Regions from separate parts of the Homo sapiens genome. Here region 1 is linked to region 2. The links are contacts of gene promoters, found by promoter capture Hi-C in blood cells and fetal thymus (Javierre and others, 2016). All regions are on one chromosome and are shown on one strand. Each heading gives the region's core, a stretch centred on a gene start or on the middle of the fragment in contact. The rest is flanking DNA. Distances are from core to core; before and after follow the strand shown. Region 1 holds the start of PARP2 (poly(ADP-ribose) polymerase 2). Region 2 holds the start of HNRNPC (heterogeneous nuclear ribonucleoprotein C).

Region 1 (7,513 bases), core at 4,609-7,108, 920 kb before region 2:
TCAGGGAGAGCCCTGTTAGGGCCGCCTCTGGCCCTAGTCTCAGACCTTCCCAAGGGACATGGGAGTGGAGTGACAGGACGCACTCAGCTCGTGGCCCCACTGATGAGCTTCCCTCCGCCCTATGGGAAAAAGTGGTCTCATACAGAACTTATAAGATTCCCAAATCCAAAGACATTTCACGTTTATGGTGATTTCCCAGAACACATAGCGACATGCAAATATTGCAGGGCGCCACTCCCCTGTCCCTCACAGCCATCTTCCTGCCAGGGCGCACGCGCGCTGGGTGTTCCCGCCTAGTGACACTGGGCCCGCGATTCCTTGGAGCGGGTTGATGACGTCAGCGTTCGAATTCCATGGCGGCGCGGCGGCGACGGAGCACCGGCGGCGGCAGGGCGAGAGGTTCGGAGCTCAATATCGCGGGACGGCATGCGGGGGGCGGGCAGTCAGAAAGGAACGATGCCACCTACTGTGACCCCCTTCCCCTTCCAGCTCCCTATAACCTGCACTTGGCTACCAAACCAGTTGGGGTGCTAAATTTTGTAAATTTCGGTTTTCAGAGCTTTGGGGATTACATAATTGTGCATAAAGCCTTGCGGAGCTGTAACAACTAATGTGCCAGTACTGTTGTTAATACCTAATGTCATCCAATTTACAAAAAGTAATTGTAAGGCACACCATTATTTTATACACAACAAAGGATAAGCACTGAAAATGGTGAACTGTGATTCACTGCTTATGTCATCCATTGTAAGATGCATCCCAGTTCCAGAGAGTAAAATGCGAGTCTTAGACCTATTGAGATACGGTATTATGTGTATAATGTTCTTAAATGCATAGGTGCACCCTATAAATTAGGTTCTATTGTACTTCTCTAGAAGTACAGTATTGTACAATATTCTAATATTGGAGTAAGTGAAGTAGGAAGAGATCAAATACTTCTCCAAGTTTCCACAGAGAAAAGCAGCAGAGCTAGGCTCTAAATTAGGCACAGACCCTTGAGCACTTAACTAACCTTTATCCCATACGGCCTCATGTATGAGGTGGGTATTTGGGGGACATTGGGACACAAGTAAAACAGATAAGCAGGCCTCAATCTATGAGCTTACAAGACTCCTGGGACTCCCTTTTATTTTGTTTTATTTCATTTGGCTAGAATAGCAATTTAGGAAGAATTACACAGACTGTTACACAAAAGTAGTGTGGGACAGTTGTTATTGCCTCTGTAAACTTAGAAAATTATCTTAAACCGGCGGGGTGAGGTGGCTCACGCCTGTAATCCCTTGGGAGGCCGAGGAGGGCAGATCACTTGAGGTCACGAGTTCGAGACCAGCCTGGCCAACATGGTGAAACCCTGTCTCTACTAAAAATACAAAAATTAACTGGGCATGGTGGTGCACGCCTGTAATCCCAGCTACTCAGGAGGCTGAGGCACGAGAATCACTTGAACCCAGGAGGCGGAGGTTGCAGTGAGCCAAGATCGCACCACTGCAGTCCAGCCTGGGCGAGAGAGTGAGACTCCACCTCAAAACAAAAAAAGAGAGAAAATTATCTTAAACCATTTCTTTAAAAGATTTTTTTCAATCTTTAAAATCTACACGTATTCGGGTGTGTACTCATTCTTTGCTAATTTCCAAATTCTGTAGCATTAAATGAAAGCAAAAGAGTTAATAATGGCAACACGGCTCCAGAAGACTCTTCCCCTGCCAAGAAAACTCGTAGATGCCAGAGACAGGAGTCGAAAAAGATGCCTGTGGCTGGAGGAAAAGCTAATAAGGACAGGACAGAAGACAAGCAAGATGGTATGCCAGGAAGGTCATGGGCCAGCAAAAGGGTCTCTGGTAGGAGTGGATCTGGGGATGATATCTTGTTATTTCAACTCCTATTTCGTCCTTCTTTCAGGGAATAATTAATTTCTCTATCCTTTGGGCATACCACAGCACTAATCTACTGCCTTGAATCTTCATTTTCATGTATTTGAGATGGATTGGGGTCTAAGGAAAGACCAGGATTGGTTGGGCGGGCAAAGTTAATCCTGACAAGTTTCTGTTTTACCACAACAGCTGTTTTTGATTCCCATAAAGTAGTACCTATCTGTCTTTCCTCAGAATCTGTGAAGGCCTTGCTGTTAAAGGGCAAAGCTCCTGTGGACCCAGAGTGTACAGCCAAGGTGGGGAAGGTAAGAGACTCTGGAACCGATCTTCAGTCCATGGATATCTCAGAGAGCATCCTTTGTTATAAGGACTCCTGTCTGGGATGCTGTTAGTACTCATTTTAGGAATCCTCTCCAAAATATGATGAGTGAGTAGTTTTCTCTAATGGCAAGAGATAGGAGTGGTAGGGCTTGGGGTTAATAATCAGGGTGTTTTTTAACATGGTGTGTTAGACCATTCTTGCATTGCTGTAAAGAAATACCTGAGACTAGGTATTTTATAAGAAAAGAGGTTCCTAGAGGCTGTACAGGAAGCATAGCAGTATCTGCTCCTCAGGAGACCTTAGGAAACTTTTACTCATGGCAGAAGGTGAAGCGGGAATAGGCACGTCACATGGCAAAAGCAGGGGAGAGAGAGAGAGACAGAGAGAAAGGGAGAGAGAGAGATTGGAGAAGGTGTCACAGAGAGAGAAAGAGAGAATGGGGAGGTGTCACACGCTTTTAAACTACCAAATCTTGTGTGAATTCACTCACTATCAAGAGGACAGCAGCAAGACAGTGGTGCTAAACCATTCATGAGAAATCCACTTCCATGATTGAATCACTTCCCACCAGGCCCCACCTCCAGTACTGAGGATTACAATTCAGCATGAGATTTGGAAGGAGACAAATATACAAACTATATCACATGCGTACCTTTTGTGGTTGCCATCAGCCTTCTACACCTCATTCTCTTTTTAAACCAGAAAATGGTATCATTGTTAAGGGAAAACTGTTTTCTTGTTCTAATGAGAAACTGTACCCTGGAATGGCATGAGTTACTGATGAATGGGGAAAAAAGAAGGCTACCTCTGGAATAAGTTTTCTTTAACTCAGTTAGAATCTTTTTTTTTTTTTTTTTTTTTTTTGAGATAGAGTCTCACTCGGTCACCCAGGCTGGAGTGCAGTGGTGTGATCTCAGCTCACTGCATCCTCCACTTCCTAGGTTCAAGTAATTCTCTTGCCTCAGCCTCCCAAGTAGCTGTGATTACAGGTGCCCACCACCACGCCCAGCCTGGGCTAATTTTTATATTTTTAGTAGAGACGGGGCTTCACCATGTTGGCCAAGCTGGTCTCGAATGCCTGACCTCAAGTGATCTGCCCACCTTAGCCTCCCGAAATGCTGGGATTGCAGGCATGAGCCACCATGCGCAGCCTAACTCAGAATCTTTTGTATAGTTAAAAAAAAGGAAGCATGTTTTCATTTATAGTAAGGTTACACCCAGGTTACTGGTAGAACATAGGTTTGCAATTCTTTCCTTGGGAGATGAATGTTGATGTTGCTGTAGAATGATGACTTGAGCCATAAGAAAATTTAGAGCCTCATTTAGGATGTCAGGGCTGAACCTATACTAATGTTGATTTTTTCTCTCTCTCCCTTTCTAGGCTCATGTGTATTGTGAAGGAAATGATGTCTATGATGTCATGCTAAATCAGGTAAGAGGCAAGAAGAGGTGGCACCATTATATTTATGAGACCATCTTCTTGATAATTATTGATGATAGCATCACAGTGTTCAGATCTTTAAAGTCCCTTTTTTTTTTTTTTTTAAATTTTGTTTTTTCTTTTTGAAATGGAGTCTCACTTCATCTCTCAGGCTGGAATACAGTGGCACAATCTCGGCTTACTGTAACCTCTGCCTCCCAGGTTCAAGCAATTCTCCTGCCTCAGCCTCCCAAGTAGCTGGGGTTACAGGCGTGCACCACCACTCCCAGCTAATTTTTTGTATTTTTAGTAGAGACAAGGTTTCGCCACGTTAGCCAGGGTCTGGTCTCGAACTCGTGACTTCAAGTGATCCACCCACCTCAGCCTCCCAAAATGCTGGGATTACCAGGTGTAAGCCACCACGCCTTGCCTAAAGTCCTTCATATGTGTGTGTGTATATATATATATATATATATATATATATATATATATATATATTTTTTTTTTTTTTTTTTTTTTTTTTTTTTTTTTTGAGACAGAGTCTTGCTCTGTCACCCAGGCTGGAATGCAGTGGTGCAATCTCGGCTCACTGCAATCTCTGCCTCCTGGGTTCAAGCAATTCTCCAGCCTCAGCCTCCCAAGTAGCTGGGACTACAGGTGCAGTGTCTGGCTAATTTTTTGGTATTTTTAGTAGAGATGGGGTTTCACCATGTTGGCCAGGCTGGTCTTGAACCCCTGACCTCAGGTGATCCACCCACCTCACCCTCCCAAAGTGTTGGTATTACAGGCATGAGCCACTGCGCCCGGCAAGTCCTTTATATTAATATTAGCCATTAGTGGTTAAACACCTGAGTACTCAGCCCTAGCACACTCTTATCAGATAGCAGAGTCCTCTGTGAGAAGATTTTTTTTTGCAAATTTCATATCATTTATTGAAATTGTTAACTCTCTGTTCATATCCTTTTGCACATTTTTTTTTTTTTTTTAAACAGACAGGATCTTGTTCTGTCACCCAGGCTGGAGTGCAGTTTGTACAGTCATAGCCCACTGCAACCTTGAACTTCTGGGCTCCAGCAATCCTCCCACCTAAGCTTCCTGAGTAGCTCGGACTTCAGGCGCATGCCACAAAGCCTGACTAATTTTTAAATTTTTTATGGAGATGAGAATCTCGCTATGTTGGATAGGTGGTCTTGAATTCTTGGCCTCAAATGATCCTCCTGCCTTGTCCTCATGAGGCACTGGGATTACAGGGATGAGCCACTGGGACAAGCTGTTTTGCACATTTTCTAAAGTTATTGGTCCTTTTCTTACTGGTTTCGAGGAACTTTATATAATATGGAGAATAGCCTTTTGTCTGTAATACAAACCACTTGTGTTTTCCAGATTTGTCATTTACCTTTTGGTTTTCCTTATAGTACACTTTTTGCCCATATTGAAGTTTTAAATTTTTTCTGTAGTTAAATTTATTAATTTTTCCTTTTTAAAAAATTTTGGGTTTTTTTTTTTTTAATTTTAGAGACAGTGTCTTGCTATGTTGCTCAGGCTGGCCTTGAACTTGTGACCTCGTGTGATCCTCCAACCTCAGCCTCCCAAGTAGCTGGGACTACAGGCATCTGCCCCCAAGCTCAGCTTTCTTTTTAATCAACCTTTTTCTCTTGTTTACCTTTGTGGTTTTGAGTAGATAATACATTTGCCTCATTAATATATTTCCTGGATATGACTTCATGTTTGAATTTATTGATCCAACATATATAATTTTAACAACCAATTAGTATTTATTTCTTACTATTTCTTCTACTTAAAATACCACGAGCAGATAGAAAATACCTTAAGGTTAGCCAGGTGCAGTGGCTCACGCCTGTAATCCCAGCACTTTGGGAGGCTGAGGCGGGCGGATCACCTGAGGTCGGGAGTTCAAGACCAGCCTGACCAATGTGGAGAAATCCCATCTCTACTAAAAATACAAAATTAGCCAGGTGTGGTGGCATATGACTGTAATCCCAGCTACTCGGGAGGTTGAGGCACGAGAATTGCTTGAACCTGGGAGACGGAGTTTGTGGTGAGCCGAGATCGTACCATTGTACTCCAGCCCTGGGCAACAAGAGCAAAACTCCTTCTCAAAAAAAAAAAGAAAAGAAGGAAAATACCTTAAGGCAGCCAGGTGTGGTGGCTCATGCCTGTCATCCTAGCACTTTCGGAGGCCAAGGCTGGAGAATCACTTCAGGTGTGAGTTCAAGATCAGCCTGGGCAACATGGTGAAACCTTGTCTCTACAAAAAAATACAAAAACACCGGGCATGGGCCAGCTACTTTGGAGGCTGAGGTGGGAGGATTGCTTGAGCCTGGGAGGTTGAGGCTACAGTGAGCTGTGATTGAGCCATTGCACTCCAGCCTGGGTGACAGAGGGAGACCCTATCTCAAAAAAATAAAAAATAAAAACCATAAAAACATTTACAAAAAAATTTTTTAAAGGAAAAGAAAATATCAAGCTGGGCATGGTGGCTTATGCCTAAAATCCCAGCACTTTGGGAGGCCAAGGCGGGCAGATCACTTGAGTTAGGGGTTCAAGACCAGCCTTGCCAACATGTTGAAACTCCATGTCTACTAAAAATACAAAAAAAAATTAGTCTGGCATGGTGGCGTGTGCCTGTAATCCCAGCTACTAGGGAGGCTGAGGCACAAGAAATTGCTTGAACCTAGGACACAGAGGTGGCAATGAGCGGAGGTTGCACCACTGCACTCCAGCCTGGGCGACAGAGCAAGACTCTGTCTCAAAAAAAGAAAATATCTTAGGCTCCTTTTTGTTCTAACATCTAATGACCTTTTTTTTTTCACCAGTGGGCTAAGGTCGTACAATGGCTTTAGAATGTGAGCAAGCAGGAGATAGAGGTAGGAAGGGGCAGCATGCTTAACAAAAAAGAATGCCTCCATATCCAGGGCTCGGCCATACAACACCAGCTGCTATGCCTTATCATGGACTTCTCTCTCTTCACTCTGAGTGATTTACTTACAGATACCTCTTTTTAGATACTGGCCATATTCTCTCTCAGTATCTCCAAGTCAGGTCAGGTTAGGTATGGGACGGATGTGGCAGTGGTTTTGCGTATCCCTTGTCCCCTCCCATTATTGCCCTGCTCTCAGCTCATTGTCAAATTTCTGCAGCTGACAAACAAAAGCTGTGAGTAGAACTGTCAAGGAGTAAGTCATTTAACAGTTGAGCATAACAGGTTTAGACCTTTGGAGCATCCAAATTGTTTTCATTTGGGAAATAATTATTGGGAGTGGATTGGGAGCTGGAAAACACATATAGCTTAGAAAATATCTAAATAGGGAGCTGAGGCAGGAAAAAACTGGAGGAGCCATTCAATGTAGGATATTTGAGGTTGGATAGAGGGTTTTAGGAAGCTTCTAGGCTCCCACTTTAATTCCTAAGAATCCAAAGTTTAATGTATAAGCCCTATTTCTTCTTTATATCTTTAATCTTACAGGAATCTAATTTTCTTGCCTGATGCTATCCTTTTCCTTATGGAAATAACTGGCACCTGTGACGAAGGATGAGTCATTGGTTTATGTGATTTCCATTTGCAAAACTCCTTTTTTTTGTTTTTGTTTTCACTCAACATAGACCAATCTCCAGTTCAACAACAACAAGTACTATCTGATTCAGCTATTAGAAGATGATGCCCAGAGGAACTTCAGTGTTTGGATGAGATGGGGCCGAGGTAATGATTTTTATTGAGATTTTATGAGTTGGCATTCAGAAAGTCAGAAGCAGCTTAGTGGGTGGCCAAAGGATTCTCTGGGTTTAAATTGGGTCAGTAGAGGCTCTGAAGTCTGGGAGAGCCTTAGGAATCAAGTTGAGCATCTTGAAATTGGGGAATGGCAGGCATCCTCCTTAGAG
Region 2 (7,065 bases), core at 59-2,558:
TGTCCCAGATAAGTCAATGTGACACTAAAGATCTAAACAATTTTTTTTAACTTTTAAGTTTTTTATCAAATTTCAGCACCCAGCAAATAATAGGCACTGTTAATATTTGCTTAATATAACGTAGCTGTGAATTTTTGCCCACATTTAGGCGGACGGGAAAATTAACGCCAGAATATCCCGAAAGTCAAATTTTGTCATCTTACACTTAGGAAGTTACGTTAAAAAATTCTCAAGTCTCGTAGTATTTTTCTTAAGCGCAATTTGGGAATTTCCAGTTACCTCGTGGTTTCCGTCATCAGGTTCTTGGCAAAGATTGCAATACAGTAGTTTTAGAACTATATTAACTAGGTATTCCATTAACTAGGTAAAAACCACTCGACTGACCTCGTGGTCAAATTCCTTACTAGTGCTGCTACTGACTTAATATGACCCTAGCAACCAACACTTTTCTGCCTCAGTTTCCGTCTGAGAAAGAGAGTTAATACCTACCTCAAGCAAAGTTCCACTAACTTATATATTTCAAGTGTTTTGTAACCTGCAGATGAAAAGTCAGCTGTAAATATTAATATAGTTATATCACAATATTTCCTTTTACAAATGTAAGTGAAAATAACTACTTCGAGCTCCATCATTTGCTCATAGAGAGAAATAAAATAAAAAGTTATCAGTAAAATGCTGAATCTTTTGTTAAACCTTTCTCGTAGGCCACGCGGCACGATCCAGGATTTAAAGGCTCGCGATACATCTACTTGGTAACCTTCCCCCTTCCCCTCCCCCACTTTTTACATGTAAGAAGAACGGAGGTAATAGAAGGCATCGGCGCTACGTTAACTTCGACTATATTAATGAGCATCACGATCTTCATTTTCATGATCCCGTAGTCCTCGCGGTCGTAGAAAATGAAAGGAAAGCAGCCGTTAACACAGGAAGAGCGAAAAAAGGACATTTTCCCTGGCGATCGTGGCCTAGAGGACACCAGGTTAAACCTATACAGAGGCTGAGGCCTATAAAACTGCCCCCGGCTTCAACCTAATCCCCCAAAACAAGCAGAATAAATGAGGGCCCGGTTAGTTAGGGGGAAGGATTCCCACATCTTCTCTCCCACACCCCCTCTCGCTTCCCGAAAAACCCAGCGCCTTCCCTGCGTCCGCCCTCTCCACTTACCAAGAAGGGGAGGGAGAAGAGATTCGATTCTGAGTCTCCTACTCCCGGGTTCTGCGTAGAGAAGCCGACTGCTGCTGGAGGTCGGCAACGCGGCCACAACCGCTCAGTCTTCGTCTCTTCACAAAATGGCCCCCGAGTCTCCTCTGCCGCCGAGGCGAAGGCCTAGTCCCCGCCCCATTCCTGAGAATCTTCCTATTGGCTGTGCGTTTTTTCGCTCCCGCTCCTAATTAGACAGTTCAACCGCTCCTCACAATGATATCCAATCACAATTAGCAGTGGGTTAGACTAAGCAGGCGAATTTCCACATGCGTGAGAGAAACTAGTTTATAACTGGTTAGTTTTCCTGTCATTTATTGCCTGGAGAATGCTTATTGGCTATTGCACGGGACGACCCTCTGGGTGGAAACTCGCCTTTGTATCGCGCACCGTCTCACATCCGGGTATCTGGGAGGCCTGATTGGCGGCCGCGGCGTCCTATCGCTGCCCCTTAGAGTGCCTAGTAGAAGATCCGCCCAGACCTCGGATTTCCGGCTGCGCGGGGGCGGGGAAAGGGTTGAGGGGCGTAGTTAGGTGACGGGCGCAAAAGACCTGCCCCAGCCCCGGGCCTAGGGAAAAAAAAGCGCGAAATGAAGCCTCCGTTGTGCAATGTGAATAAAGAAAGGACTTTTCTTAAAATGAGGAGGGAGCAGCAGTGACTAGGCCTTGTTAAAGTGTGTAGAAAACTAACCAGTCCTGCAGTTTTTCCAACCCCAGACCCTTTCTCAGTTCCAGATTCGAATGTCAGCTACCTCGTAGACATCTGCTTCTTGGCCTATTAAACCCTTCTTCAGACAACACATGTTCCATCGAAACCAACTGACTTCCTTATTCCTCTCCAATATAAAAAGGAAGTGCAGAATCCTGGCCTCTGGCCCCAGGGCATCTAATATCTTAAGTGCCAGCAAAATTGGCCCATCCTTCCAAATCTGGTCCCTTAATTTCCCTCCTCTTGAAATGGCTTGTCTCCTACCTACCCCCGTCACCTGCCAGTCTCTCTGGTTACATTATAGGAACTGCGCACGCAGTGGGGTAGCATCAGCTCTACTAAGCCAGCGGTTTCTTTTTTCTTTTCTTTTTTTTTTTTTTTTTTTTTTTTTTTTGAGGCAGAGTCACTGTCGCCCAGGCTGGAGTGCAGTGGCGCGATCTTGGCTCACTGCAACCTCCGCCTCCCGGGTTCAAGCGATTTTCCTGCCTCAGCCTCCTGAGTAGCTGGAACTACAGGTGCGCGCCACCATGTCCAGCTAATTTTTGTATTTTTAGTACAGATGGGGTTTCGCCATGTTGGCCAGACTGTTCAGGTGATCCGCCCGCCTCTGCCTCCCAAAGTGATAAGATTATAGGCGTGAGCCACCACGCCAGACCACTTTAAACTATTTTAAAAAGCAAAGACGAAAAATATGGGAGAAAGTATACACTAAAGTGTTAGTAGTGGTTCTCTCCTGGTGGGAAAATTACATGTGATTTTTTTTTTTAACTTTTTTTTTTTCAAACGGAGTCTCGCTTTGTCACCAGCCTGGAGTGTAGTGGCGCCATCTTGGCTCACTGCAACCTCCGCCTCCTAGGTTCAAGCGATTCTCCTGCCTCAGCCTCCCGAGTAGCTGGAACTACAGGTGCGTGCCACCACGCCCAGCTAATTTTTGTATTTTTAGTAGAGACGGGGTTTCACCATGTTGGCCAGGATGGTCTCCATCTCTTGACCTCGTGATCCGCCCGCCTCAGCCTTCCTAAGTGCTGGGATTACAGGCGTGACCCACCGCGCCCAGCCTTAAAATCTTATTGTACTTTTCTATATTTTCCAAATCATCTACTTTGAGCAAGTAATCAGAGGGAGAATATCCTACGAGTGCTTAAAGCCTCGACTCAATTGCCACATTGCAATTTATTTAAAATTATCTCGTAGCACTGTGGGTAGTTTTACACTCCTCTCCCTTCCTGGATGGTAAGATTTTTTGATGGCAGAGTTTAATTCTTACTCTTCAATATATTTTCCTTGTTTACTACCTATTAATAAATTAATAAAATATTAACCATTAACTTTTATTTATCAGGGGAAATTTTTATTTTTCCAGGACAAGCAGATAGACTGTCCTTTTTTTCTCTCTCTTTCTTTTGAGATGAGGTCTTGTTCTGTTGCCCAGGCTGTAGTGCATTGGCATAATCCCGGATGATTACAGCTTCAACCACCCAGTCGCAAGCAATCCTCCCACCTCAGCCTCTGGAGTAGCTGAGACCACAGGTGTGCACCACCACATTGGCTAATTTTATTTTTATATTTTGTAGAGACAGCGTCTTACCATGTTGCCCAGGCTAGTTTTGAACTCCTGGGCTCAAGCATTCCTCCCTCCTTGGCCTCCCAAAATGCTGGGAGGCACCATGCCAGCCCTGTCTTTTCTTTCTTTTCTTCTTTTTTTTTTGAGACAGAGTATTGTTCTGTCGCCCAGGCTGGAATGGAGCGGCGCAATCTCGGCTCTCACTGAAAGCTCCGCCTCGCCGGGTTCAGGTCATTCTCCTACCTCACTCAGCCTCCCGAGGAGCTGGGACTACAGGCGCCCGCCACCGCGCCCGGCTAAATTTTTTTTGTATTTTTAGTAGAGACGGGGTTTCACCGTGTTAGCCAGGATGGTCTCGATCTCCTGACCTCGTGATCCTCCTGCCTCAGCCTCCCAAAGTGCTGGGATTACAGGCGTGAGCCACTGCGCCAGGCCCTGTCTTTTGTTTGTTGTATGTTTTATGTAGCACTTACTCAGAGAGGCCTGGAGTCTGTCGGGTCTGGTTGACATGTAATTTATGTTATTATTATTACTATTATTTGAGACAGGATCTCACTCTGTCGCCCAGTCTGGAGTGCAGTAGCACCATCAAGGCTCACTGCAACCTCGATCTCCTGGGCTCAAGAGATCCTCCCACCTCAGCCTCCTGAGTAGCTGGGACTACAGGCGTGTGCCACCAGACTCACTAAGTTTTCTAATTTTTGTGGAGATGGGGTTTCACCGTCTTGCCCAGGCTGGTCTCAAATTCCTGTGCTCAAGCAATCCACCGGCCTGGGCCTCCCAAAGTGCTGGGATTACAGGCTGACCCACGTCTGGCCTCTTGACTTAAGTAAACAAAACTGTCTCAAAAATAAAATAAAATAAAATAAAATTTTATAGAGCTCTCTCGTTTTAGCTAACACTGCTTTATACTTTTTTTTTTTTTTTTGAGATGGAATTTCGCTCTTGTTGGCCAGGGTGGAGTGCAACGGGGCGATCTCGGCTCACTGCAGCCTCTGCCTCCCAGGTTCAAACGATTCTCATGCCTCAGCCTCCTGAGTAGCTGGGACTACAGGCATCCGCCACCATGCCTGGCTAATTTTTGTATTTTTAGTAAAGATGTAGTTTTGCCACGTTGGCCAGGATGGTCTTGAACTCCTGTGCTCAAGCAGTCTGCCCGACACACCTCCCAAAGTGCTGGGATTACAGGCCTGAACCACCGCACCCGGTTAATATCTTTTTTTTTTTTTCCTGAGACCGAATCTTGCTCTGTCACCCAGGCTGACGTGCAGTGGCGTGATCTTGGCTCACTGCAACCTCCGCCTCCCACGTTCAAGCGATTCTTCTGCCTCAGCCTCCCGAGTAGCTGGGATTACAGTCGCCCACGACCACGCCGGGCTAATTTTTGTATTTTTAGTAGAGACGGGGTTTTACCATGTTGGCCAGGCTGGTCTTGAACTCCTGACCTTAGGTGATCCACCCACCTCGGCCTTCCAAAGTGCTGGGATTACAGGCTTGAGCCACCAAGCCCGTCCCCAATATCATTTTTAAAAACCAATCCCCTCTTCAAGACATTGAAGTTGTTTCCAGTTTTTCAGTATCATATATCAATTATTTTATTATTTTATTTATTTATTTTTGGGGGGTGGGGGTGGGGATGGAGTTTCACTCTTTCCCCCAGGCTGGAGTGAAGTGGCACGATCACAGCTCATTGCAATCTCTGGAGCGGTGGCTTACGCCTATAGTCCCAGCACTCTGGGAGGCGAGGTGGGTGGATCACCTGAGGTCAGGAGTTCGAGACCAGCCTGGCCAACATGGTGAAACCCTATCTCTGCTAAAAATACAAAAAATTAGCTGGGCGTGGTGGCAGGCGCCTGTAACCCCAGCTACTTGGGAGGCTGAGGCAGGAGAATCACTTGAACCCAGTGGGGTGGAAGTTGCAGTGAGCTGAGATTGCGCCATTGCACTCCAGCCTGGGCGACAGATTGAGACTCCATCTCCAAAAAATAAATAAATAATATGAACAAACAGGCAAAAAAAATCTTTGATCACAGTCCAAGTGTGGCGGGCCATGCCTGTAATCCCAGCACTTTGGGAGGCCGAGTTGGGCGGATCACCTGAGGTCGGGGAGTTCGAGACCAGCCTGGCCAACATGATGAAACCCTGTCTTTTCTTAAAATACAAAAATTAGCCAGACGTGACGCGCACTTGTAATCCCAGCTATTCGGAAGGCTGAGGCAGGAGATTCATTTGAACCTGGGAGGTGGAGGTTGCAGTGAGCCAAGATCATGCCACTGCACTCTAGACTAAGGGACAGAGCAAGACTCCGTCTCGAAAATTAAAAAAAAAAAAAAATCCTTGTCCACAAAGCTTTAGAACTGGGAGAGATAGCTGGGCGCGGTGGCTCACACCCATAATCCCAACACTTTGGGAGGCCAAGGCAGGAAGATCACGAGGTCAGGAGACGGAGACCATCCTGGCCAACATGGTGAAACCCCGTCCCTACTAAAAATACAAAAATTAGCTGGATATGGTGGCGCATGCCTGTAATCCCAGCTACTTGGGAGGCTGAGGCACGAGAATCGCTTGAACCTGGGAGGCGGAGGTTGCAGTGAGCCGAGATTGCACCACTGCACTCCAGCCTGGCAACAGAGTGGAAAAAAAAAAAAAAAAGAAGGAAAGATAAAGTCTGGATTATGACATCCATTCGTGGTTTTGAAATCAAGTAATATTTGCTTCTAAGTATTATTGACTACCCTTATATTAAATATTAATAGTAAAAATAAAAATTTACTGAGCAGATACCATGTGTAAAGCACTTTTCTAAGTGTTTCACATGAATTAGCTCATTTGATAATTTTATTATCCCCATTTTAAAGATGTAGAAATGAAAGCACAGAAAGGTTAAGTAATTTGCCTAAGGTCACACAACTAGTTTTTGGTGGTGCAAGATTCTGACACTATAGCTAGACACTCGGAAGCCTGTAATCCCAGCTACTCAGGAGGCTGAGGCAGGAGGATCCCTGGAGACCAGGATTTAGCTACCAGCAGCAAGACCGTGTCTCAAAAAGAGAAAAAAAAAAGATTCTAATGCTAGGAGGTCTAGTTCTAGAGGATATGCAAATAACCATTACACTATTATTAATAATGTAATGTATGCCAAGGTGGGAAAATCCTACCCATTCACTCAACAATACTTGTTAAACGTACTATGTAATTAGCTGATGCCACAAGAGCATAGAAGTAAACAAAACAGACATGGCCCTGCCCTTCAGAACAGAATCAAATATTAAATGGATAATTACTCAATTAATTGTTTATACTAAATTGTGAGTGCTACTGAAAATAAGTAAGAAGGTGCTATGAGACCTATATAATAGAGACTTCAAGCCCCTTCAGAAGATATTTGAAAATAAGTGACTTTATTTTAAAAACATCCTCCAGCTTGGGCAACATCTCTTAAATTTTTTTTTTTTTTTTTTTTGAGACAGAGTATCGCTCAGTCGCCAGGCTGGAGTGCAGTGGCACGATCTCGGCTCACTGCAGCTTCCACCTCCCAGGTTCAAGCGATTCTCCTGCCTCAGCCTCCCAAGTAGCTGGGACTATAGGCTTG

Evidence for each region. The method cuts DNA at HindIII sites, captures the fragments that hold promoters and counts their contacts. A CHiCAGO score of 5 or more calls a contact.
Region 1: a contact is called between a fragment that was not itself captured here and the fragment with the promoter of HNRNPC in region 2, in 1 of 17 cell types (monocytes). The highest score is 9.2, in monocytes.

Annotation. Positions count from the first base shown.
Region 1 is chr14:20,343,289-20,350,801 of GRCh38, forward strand. PARP2 (poly(ADP-ribose) polymerase 2) reads left to right here and starts at 347. Exons shown (of 16, transcript NM_001042618.2): 1 at 347-399; 2 at 1,644-1,799; 3 at 2,106-2,176; 4 at 3,575-3,625; 5 at 7,238-7,334. The coding sequence starts at 354. It also overlaps RPPH1. RefSeq lists an enhancer at 260-429. The HindIII fragment of the contact is 2,313 bases long and covers 4,703-7,015 here.
Region 2 is chr14:21,268,134-21,275,198 of GRCh38, forward strand. HNRNPC (heterogeneous nuclear ribonucleoprotein C) reads right to left here and starts at 1,309. Exons shown (of 9, transcript NM_004500.4): 1 at 1,165-1,309. RefSeq lists enhancers at 788-1,412, 1,050-1,309, 1,413-2,038 and a silencer at 1,400-1,479. The HindIII fragment of the contact is 8,584 bases long and covers 1-5,820 here.